3 separate regions of the Homo sapiens genome follow, and all the other regions are linked to region 1. Evidence: promoter capture Hi-C in 16 types of primary human blood cells and fetal thymus (Javierre and others, 2016). All regions are on one chromosome and are shown on one strand. The core of a region is centred on a gene start or on the middle of the fragment in contact, and the rest is flanking DNA. Distances in the headings are between cores, read along the strand shown.

What was found. The method cuts DNA at HindIII sites, captures the fragments that hold promoters and counts their contacts. A CHiCAGO score of 5 or more calls a contact.
Region 2: a fragment that was not itself captured here is called in contact with the fragment with the promoter of EIF4G1 in region 1 in 1 of 17 cell types (M2 macrophages); the score reaches 6.3 in M2 macrophages.
Region 3: a fragment that was not itself captured here is called in contact with the fragment with the promoter of EIF4G1 in region 1 in 9 of 17 cell types (M2 macrophages, M0 macrophages, M1 macrophages and 6 more); the score reaches 10.2 in M2 macrophages.

What each region holds. Positions count from the first base shown.
Region 1 is chr3:184,313,348-184,316,548 of GRCh38, reverse strand. EIF4G1 (eukaryotic translation initiation factor 4 gamma 1) reads right to left here and starts at 1,943. Exons shown (of 33, transcript NM_198241.3): 1 at 1,875-1,943; 2 at 1,004-1,060; 3 at 693-786; 4 at 331-417. The coding sequence starts at 752. RefSeq lists enhancers at 674-1,295, 2,020-2,520 and silencers at 1,133-1,842, 1,863-2,192. The HindIII fragment of the contact is 4,143 bases long and covers 832-3,201 here.
Region 2 is chr3:183,995,350-183,998,261 of GRCh38, reverse strand. The region is part of intron 2 of ABCC5 (ATP binding cassette subfamily C member 5); the gene reads left to right. Among named protein-coding and RNA genes, the nearest start is that of ABCC5-AS1, 9.5 kb to the left of the region's middle. The HindIII fragment of the contact is 3,012 bases long and covers 1-2,858 here.
Region 3 is chr3:183,899,001-183,902,029 of GRCh38, reverse strand. It overlaps the pseudogene CYP2AB1P. Among named protein-coding and RNA genes, the nearest start is that of MIR4448, 14 kb to the right of the region's middle. The HindIII fragment of the contact is 4,315 bases long and covers 1-3,029 here.

The sequences.
Region 1 (3,201 bases), core at 694-3,193:
CCAAAGAGAAAGCAGAGAGAGCAATAGAGCAATAGCAGCCTCCGGTAAAAGGAGCAAATAGGAAAGCAAGAGCTGGCAGCAGGGCCCAAAGCACTGCCCCCAATTCTCAGAGGCACTAGGATCCCAGTAATGCCACCCTCATTGACAACATACTATCCAAGGGACCAGCCACCGTGAGTAATCAACAGGGCAAGGCGCAGAGCCGCATGAAAGAACACAGAGGATTAAGGCCAGGTATGGGGCCTCCAGTTTCCATCCTAGACCTAAACTGGCCAAAGCTTTCCACTGCTCCCACCCAGGTCCCCTACTCCCCTCCCCACAGCCCCTCACCTGGCGGGGCTGAGAAGGCGTGTTCATTTGTGTCGCTTGTGGCGTACTGAACACCACCGGCGCTGTCTGCCCCGGGGGAAACGCTGGCTGAAGAGGGGAGACCAGAGTTCAGCAAGAGGGGAAGCCCAGGTGGGGCAGAAACCCAAGCTGGTGAAATAAGGGGAGCAGATCTGCGGCAAGAGCCTTAACAATCCACATACCCCCTCCCCGTGACAGCCCCCGGGGACAGCCCAGGGGCCCTGTCTCAATTTGGCAGCAGGCGGCTGCACTTTGCCCTGACACAGATGGGGGTAGGAAGATCCAGAGGCTGGAGACTGCCTGGTCTCCCCCACCCCCACCCCTGCTAATTCCTCCCTAATTACCTGTGGGAGTCCGGGGGATGGGGCGGGTGGGGGGCCTGTGGACTGTGGAGCTTTGTTCATTTCATTTGGTGCCACATCAGGGTCCCCCCAGCACCTGTTGGGAAAGAGTGGCGCTCAGGAAGAGGAAGGGACCCAAGCTTAAGGCAAATGGGGCGGTGAAAGGGTTGATGCAAGGGCTGGGTCCCATACGGAGTCCCAGAGATGCCAAGAGGGTGAAGCAGAAAAGATACAGCCTGTCCCCACCAACATGCTGTCAAACCCGCATCACTTCCAACCAACCCCTGACCTACTGAAACAGACCCCTCACTCACCCCCTCGATTAAGAACAAGTCCACGGTGCGGCCTACAGGTTCTGGGCATCCGAGGGCCTGGGGTTGGGAGGTGAGGGTATCAACCTGGCTCCGCGGGGCCCCAGACCAACCAGACCGGAAATTCCAGGTCTCGCTGGCACCAGGCTCCCGGATCACGAACGGAGCTAGCTGCTTCGGCCGTGGCGTCCCCACCCCCCACCCGGGGACACCGGGTTCGGGCCTGGCCCAGGGGCACACAGGATACGCCTGCCGCCGGGGAACCCGCACTGGGCCAGAAGCTAGGCCTGCCGCCGCCCAGGAGTGTAGGCCAGGAAGGGCGGGAGTCAGGCCCTAAAAGGCCAGGCGGGCGGCGGCCGTCGAGGAGCCGGTTTCAGGCAAGTGAGGGTCGGCCCGGAGGGCGGGCGGGGCCGGGGGCTCCTCCCTGCCCGCCGCCACCGCCTCCCTCCCCTGCGCCCTCCCTGCGCAGCGCGGGCCAGTGCCAAAGAACAACGTGTCACTTCCCGGCGGCCTGGCCGCGAAGGGGGGAGGGGGCGGCGGGCCGGGAGCCGTGGTGCCTGCGCCCGTGGGCTGCCGGGCCTCCTCGGGTCAGGCCGAGGTGGCATTTCGCGGCGACGAACCCGGCGCCCTACCAGCCCGCGGGGCCCGCATAGTCCGGCCCTGCGCTCCCCACCCCCACCCAGCAGCCAGGCCCGGCCGGGCCAGGCACACGTGGGCCGGGGATCGGGACCCTGGCGGGCCGGGGCCCTGGGTCGGGCCGCGGGGCCAGGGCGCCGGGGCGGCGGCGCAGGGTGGCCGGTCCCGGCCCGGATGGCGGCGGATGCGGGGGGAGGGGGTGGGGGGGCCGGGTCGGGCCCGGACATGGCGGCTTTACCTTCAGTCTCCTTCAGTCCGCGCGGCCGAGCCCCACGCAGCCGCACAGACGTAGTCCACAACCATTTCCGGCTCCCCGCACAGATCCCGCTCGGCGGCCACCGCTTCTCCGCAGGCGCAGCCGGCGCCCCCACGTGACCGGCGCAGGGGGCGGAGCCGCGCCGGGCGATCTGCGCCGCCGAGCACATGGGATTTGCCCCCGCCCCGTCACGTGACAGCCACAGCCCGCCCCCGTGTCCCCTCCCGAACTTTGAAACTCCCAGACCGATTCCCCTCTGTGTTTCTCTCTGTTCCGCGATTCTTTAGTTCATTCATATTTTAAGCAACCATTTATTGAGTGCATGCTAAGTACAAGGCGAAGTGCTGGTTGAGGGCTGAGAAACTGAAATCAAAGTCTCGGCAAAAAAAAAAAAAAAATAAGCGGGGCGCGGTGGCTCACACCTTAATCCCAGTACTTTGGGAGGCCGAGGTGGGCGGATCACGAGGTCAAGAGATCGAGACCATCCTGGCCAACATGGTGAAACCCCGTCTTTACTAAAAATACAAAAATTAGCCGGGCGTGGTGGCGCACCCGTAGTCCCAGCTACTTGGGAGGCTGAGGCAGGAGAATTGTTTGAGCCCGGGAGGCAGAGGTTGCAGTGAGCGGAGATTGTGCCACTGCACTCTAGCCTAGCCTGGCGACAGGGCGAGACTCCATCTCAAAAAAAAAAAAGAAAGAAATTAAAGACTCCGTCCTGCCTAAGTAAATCGTGATACAATACGAATTATGCAGGCTTTGAAAATAATTTAGATTAGGTCATTGAAAGGCCAATAACAAAGGAAATTAAAAGGATAGAAACATTCTAATTAGGCAAGTAGTATGAGATTTGTAGTTTAAAAAGATCATGGGCCGGGCGCAGTGGCTCACGCCTGTAATCCCAGCACTTTGGGAGGCCGAGGCGGGCGGATCACGGGGTCAGGAGATCTAGACCATCCTGGCCAACATGGTGAAACCCCGTCTCTACTAAAATACAAAAAATTAGCTGGGCCTGGTGGCGCACGCCTGTAGTCCTAGCTACTCGGTAGGCAGAGGCAGAGAATTGCTTGAACCCGGGAGGCGGAGGTTGCAGTGAGCCGAAATTACGCCACTGCACTCTAGCCTGGCGACAGGGTGAGACTCCATCTCAAAAAAAAAAAAAAAGAAAGAAAAAAAGAAATTAAAGACTCAGTCCTGCCTAAGTAAATCGTGATACAACACGAATTATGCAGGCTTTGAAAAGAATTTAGATTAGGTCCTTGAAAGGCCTATAACAAAGGAAATTAAAAGGATAGAAACATTCTAACTAGGC
Region 2 (2,912 bases), core at 103-2,602, 320 kb after region 1:
ACTGGAGCACATATCCTGTAATAAAGTTAATTGGGGCAAACTGGGTAGAAGTCTAATTGCTAGGAGCTACATTTTTTTAATCCTGTAACCCCAGGGATAGAATTTATCCTAAATAATCTAGAAGGAGAAAAATAAAACTATAATTGTATATTATACTATTAATAATAAGCAAAAGCTGGGTGTGGAGACTCATACCTGTAATCCCAGCACTTTCCGAAGCCAAGAATGGAGGATTGATTGCTTGAGCCCAGGAGCTCAAGACCAGCCTTGGCAACATAGTAAGAACCCGTCTCTACAAAAAATAAAAAAATTAGCCAGACATGGTGGTAGTGCATGCCTGTAGTCCCAGCTACTCTGGAGGCTGAGGTGGGAGATTGCTTGAGCCAGGGAGGTCAAAGCTGCAGTGAGCTATGATTGTGCCACTGCATTCCAGCCTGGGTGACAGAGCAAAATCCTGTCTCAGACAAAAATAATAATAAGCAAAACAGCTAGAGAATCTAAACAGAAGTGGAATGGGTAAGATCGCCTCAGTGGTATATCATGTAGCATTAATTGATGATATGTAGAATGTAAGGGAAAGAAGGTATTTTGAAGGTGTTTTCATTGACGTTTGAATACTGGGTGCCAAACTCTCTACTATGCCAGAGGCCAGGGATATAAACAAGAGGAAGACAGCTTGCCCTCTAGGAGCTCTTACCAGAAGCATTGGGCTGTGGTGGTATAGGTACAGGGAAGACATAGGAGGAAGGAAGTAAGTTCCCCGACCTTGAAAGAGTCAGGGAAAACTAAAGGAAAGAAGAAATCGTTGAGACAGACCCTAAGATTTATTGGCTAAGTAAATTGGGATAATATAGCTAACATGTATTGAATGTTTATTATATACCCAATATTTTGCTAAGCACTTTTAATTATCCCATTAATTCCTCTCATCCCTATGTGGTAGATGCATGTATCATTGTAAAAATGAGTAAACTGAAACTTAAATCTGTATCTATCTTCTAAAATTCATGTTTGAAATCACTGTATTTACTATGGCTTCCAGCTGTGGGAAAATTCTGCCTGTGGAGATCTTCATACTTTAAGGCCATAAGAAAAAATAGTTTTGTTGGAGTAAGAGAATTATTTTCTCTTGTTTTTATTTTTTATTTATTTATTTTTCATGTTAACATTTGAAAGTTCTTGCCAACAGCTGAATATCTGTTGCTTATTGTTTTGAGAGACCTGTCTCTGAAGGAGGTAGGTGCAAATATGGAGTAGGACAGTGGTTCCTTCAAAGGAGAAGATCCTGTATCATATCCTGTATTTCCATCAGATATTTCATTTTCCTGACTTGGGCAATGTGTAAAGATATGACAACAAGATTGACAATTTGGGAAAACGTTTAGGAAAGAATAACAGGGACAGGATGTGACTTGGAAAGTTCGTTGCTTAGAGTAGCAAGGTTTGATTCTTTTTGATCAACAATATAGACTTTTCCATCCTCTTACTGTGAGAATTTCTACTCCATGCTTTGTTACATGAGAATTCTGAGATTAGTGCTATTTCAACCACTTTTATGGGGGTTTGTTAGGATAAAATTGCACTGAGTGCCTGTTCTAAAACCAAAGGCAGCAGGAGAGCCCTGAGTCTCTGCCATCAGTAGTGCCACTGCAGTACTCACGAGAAACCTGGGGAATGAAGACTTGCCTGGCAGCTTTCATTTGAATCTTTTTAAAAAGAGCCTTTGATTTTGATGTTTTCCAATATAGGAAGTAACTTACTACCTAGGAGGTGGTGAAACATGACATAGTTATATATAGTAAAAAGAACAAAAACCATGCAATCAGAGGATTTTAAAAATATTAAGTCCATTTAGTTTTCTATGAATAGGTTTTAGTGAAAACTGTCACTAGGCATTTTAGAAATGAAGAAAATGAAATCAGTGTGTTATACACATAGGAACTGGCATTTTTTTGGTTCCCACCATCTGGAATAGTCTTACAGATCGGAGGCACTCGGTAAGTTATTTGTGGAAAGAATGGATGAAAGCTGTGAAGATTCTGGTTTCCTATTAATGCTAATATGCCATGCTCATGTAAACATACTGATGGATTGCTTGCCAAGTTTTCCTCTTCTGATGCTTCTCAAACATCAAAGATGTTTATAGAACCCTTCTGGCCGGACACGGTGGCTTACACCTGTAATCCCAACACTTTGGGAGGCCGAGGCAGGCGGATCATGAGGTCAGGAGATCGAGACCAGCCTGGCCAACACGGTGAAACCCCATCTCTACTAAAAATACAAAAAATTAGCCGGGCGTGGTGGCGGGTGCCTGTAATCCCAGCTACTCGGGAGGCTGAGGCAGGAGAATGGAGTGAACCCGGGAGGCGGAGCTTGCAGTGAGCTTAGGTCGCACCACTGCACTCCAGCCTGGGCGACAGAGTGAGACTCTGTCTTAAAAAAAAACAACAACAAGAAAACCCCTTCTAACTCTTGAACTTGGTTCACCTGGAAAAGCAAAAGAACTAGAATAGCTAAAACAATTTTGAAAAGGAAGGATAAAGTTGAAGGCATCACACTATCCAATTTTAAGACTTAGTTTGTAGCTACAGTAATCAAGTCAGTAGTATCAATGTAGGGGTAGACAAATAGATCAATGAAATAGAGTCTAGAAATAGACTCACACAGGCATGGCCAACTTTTCGACATAAGTGCAGCACACCTCACTGGAGAAATGGTAATCTTTTCAACACATGGTACTGGAACAACCGGACATCTGTAGGCAAAAAAGTGAACCTTTGCCGAAACCTTACACTTTATACAAAAATTAACTCAAAATGAACCATAGATTTAAATATAAAATGTAAAACTATAAAGCTTTTAAGAGAGCACATAGGAGAAAATCTTCATGACCTGGGGGTTGGAAGAAGAGT
Region 3 (3,029 bases), core at 294-2,793, 410 kb after region 1:
CCACAGCCTCTATCTCCCAGCTCAATCGATCTTCCCACCTCACCCTCCCGAGTAGCTAGGACTACAGGCATGAGCCCCCATGCCTGGCTAATTTTCGTTGTTTTTGTTGTTGTTGTTGCTTTGTTTTTTTGCAGAGATGCAGTTTCACCATGTTGCCCAGGTTGGTCTCGAGCATAGTTGAAGATGATAGCTCTCTGGTGATCCAGCTTGAGATAGCTTTCCGAGCAGATTTTTGACGTGAGCTGGACAATAACATGAGGACACCTGCTCTTTGCCCAGGCTTGCTGTGTGCTGAGGGCTTTGTGCCCACGGTGTCATTCGGTACAATGGTGCTCTGTATTGTTGACGGAGCCTTGCAGATCCTAGATGACAGATGTTGAATTACTTACCTATCTTACTGTGTAACAAATTACCCCAAAACTTAGTGGCTTAGAACAACAGCATTTATCATTTCACAGTTTCTGAGGGTTAGGAAAATGGGTGTGGCTCAGCTGGATGCCTCTGACTCAAGGTCTCTCATGAGGTTACCATCAAGTTGTTGTTGGGGCTACAGTGTCACCTGAAGACTCCCCTAGGGGAGGCTCCACTTCAAGCTCACTTACATGGAGGTCTTCAGGACCCGGTTGCTCATGAACTGTTGGCTGGAGACCTTCAGTTCCTTGACACATGGGCCTCTGCATAGGGTAGCTCAAAACATGGCAGCTGAACCCCATCAGAGAGAGCAAGCAAGAGGGCACCCAAAATAGAAGCAATGGTCTTTTTGTAACCTAATCTTAGATGTGATATCCCATTGCTTTTGCCATATTCTTTTTTTTTGAGACAGAATCTCGCTCTGTCACCCCAGGCTGGAGTGCAGTGGTGCAATCTCAGCTCAGTGCAGCCTCTGCCTCCTGGGCTCAAGCAATTCTCCTGCCTCAGCCTCCCGAGTAGCTGTGATTACAGGCATGTGCCACCATGCCTGGCTAATTTTTGTATATTTTAGTAGAGATGGAGTTTACCATGTTGGCCAGGCTGGTCTTGAACTCCTGACCTCGAGTGATTGGCCTGCCTCAGCCTACCAAGGTGCTGGGATTACGGGTGTGAGCCACCGCACCCGGCCGCTTTTGCCATATTCTATTTGTTGGGTTTGTTGTTGTTGTTGTTGTTGGTTTGAGACAGTGTCTCCCTCTGTTGCCTGGGTTGGAGTGAAGGGACACAATAATAGCTCACTGCAGCCTCAACCTCCCAGGCTTGGGTGATCCTCCCACCTCAGCTGCCTGAGTAGCTGGAACTACAGGCACCACATTGTGCCACCACAATGGGCTAATTTTTAAATTTTTGGTAGAGATGGGGTTTCACCATGTTGCCTAGGTTGGTCTCAAATTCCTGGGCTCAAGTGATCCTCCCACCTTGGCCTTCCAGAGTGCTGGGATTCCATGCATGAGCCACTGCGTCTGGCCCATTTTCTATTTGTTAGAAGTGAGTTACTAAATCCATCCTATCCTCAAGGGGAGGGGATTACACAAAGGTGTGTATCCTGGGAGTCAAGGCTAACTGGGGTAACTATCGGGGAATCTGTCCCGATAGTCACGTAGGTTCTTTTCTGTTTTTCCTAAGCGTCGGCCAGCTTGAGAAATAAAGGGACGAGTACAAAAGAGAGAAATTTTAAAGCTGGGCGTCTGGGGGAGACATCACGTGTCGGTGGGTTCCGTGATGCCCCACAAGCCGCAAAAACCAGCAAGTTTTTATTAGGGATTTTCAAAAGGGGAGGGAATGTGCAAATAGGTGTGGGTCACAGACATCAAGTACTTTACAAGGTAATGGAATATCACAAGGCAAGTGGAGGCAGGGCAAGATCACAGGACCACAGGACTGGGGCAAAATTAAAATTGCTAATGAAGTTTCGGGCACCATGGTCATTGATAACATCTTATCAGGAGACAGGGTTTTGAGAGCAACTGGTCTGACCAAAAATTTATTAGGCGGGAATTTCCTCTTCCTAATAAGCCTGGGAGTGCTATGGGAGACTGGGGTCTATTTCACCCCTATAGCCTCGACCATAAGAGACAGGCACACCTAGGGGGGCCGTTTATAGGCCTATACCCCCAGGCGCGTATTCTCTTTCCCAGGGATCTTCCTTGCTGAGAAAAAGAATTCAGTGATATTTCTCCCATTTGCTTTTGAAAGAAGAGAAATATGGCTCTGTTCCACCCGGCTCATCGGTGGTCAGAGTTTAAGGTTATCTCTCGTATTCCCTGAACAATTGCTGTTATCCTGTTCTTTTTTCAAGGTGCCCAGATTTCATATCATTTAAACAGACATGCTCTACAATTTGTGCAGTTAATGCAATTATCACAAGGTTCTGAGGCAACATACATCCTCCTCAGCTGACAGGATTAAGAGATTAAAGTAAAGACAGGCATAGGAAATCACAAGGGTATTGACTGGGGAAGTGATAAGTGTCCATGAAATCTTTACAATTTATGTTTAGAGATTGCAGTAAAGACAGGCATAAGAAATTATAAAAGTATTAATTTGGGGAACTAATAAATGTCCGTGAAATCTTCACAATCCAGGTTCTTCTGCCATGGCTTCAGCCAGTCCCTCCGTTCGGGGTCCCTGACTTCCCGCAACAGGTAACATACCAACATGTGTAGGTGGTGAGGTTGCCATTTTAATGAAAATGAAACAGAGCGACTCATCTTGGTGCCCTGGTGCAGGGTGATGCCTCTGTACATAGAGGTGGTGGCGGGAGCCCTGAGACTTTCCTCGGAAAGGAGCTTTGGCTCTGCCCCGAGTACTGCCCTGGAGTACAGTGGTGTGATCTCAGCTCACTGCAGCCTCCACCTCCGGGGCTCAAGCAATTCTCCCACCTCATCCTCCCAAGTAGCTGGTATTACAGGCACGTGCCACCACGTCCAGCTAATTTTTATTATTTTTATTTTTTTTTTAATTTGTAGTAAAGACGGGGTTTCACCAGGTTGGCCAGGCTGGTCTTGAACTCCTGCCTCTGCCTCTCAAAGTGCTGGGATTACAGGCATAAGCCGCCA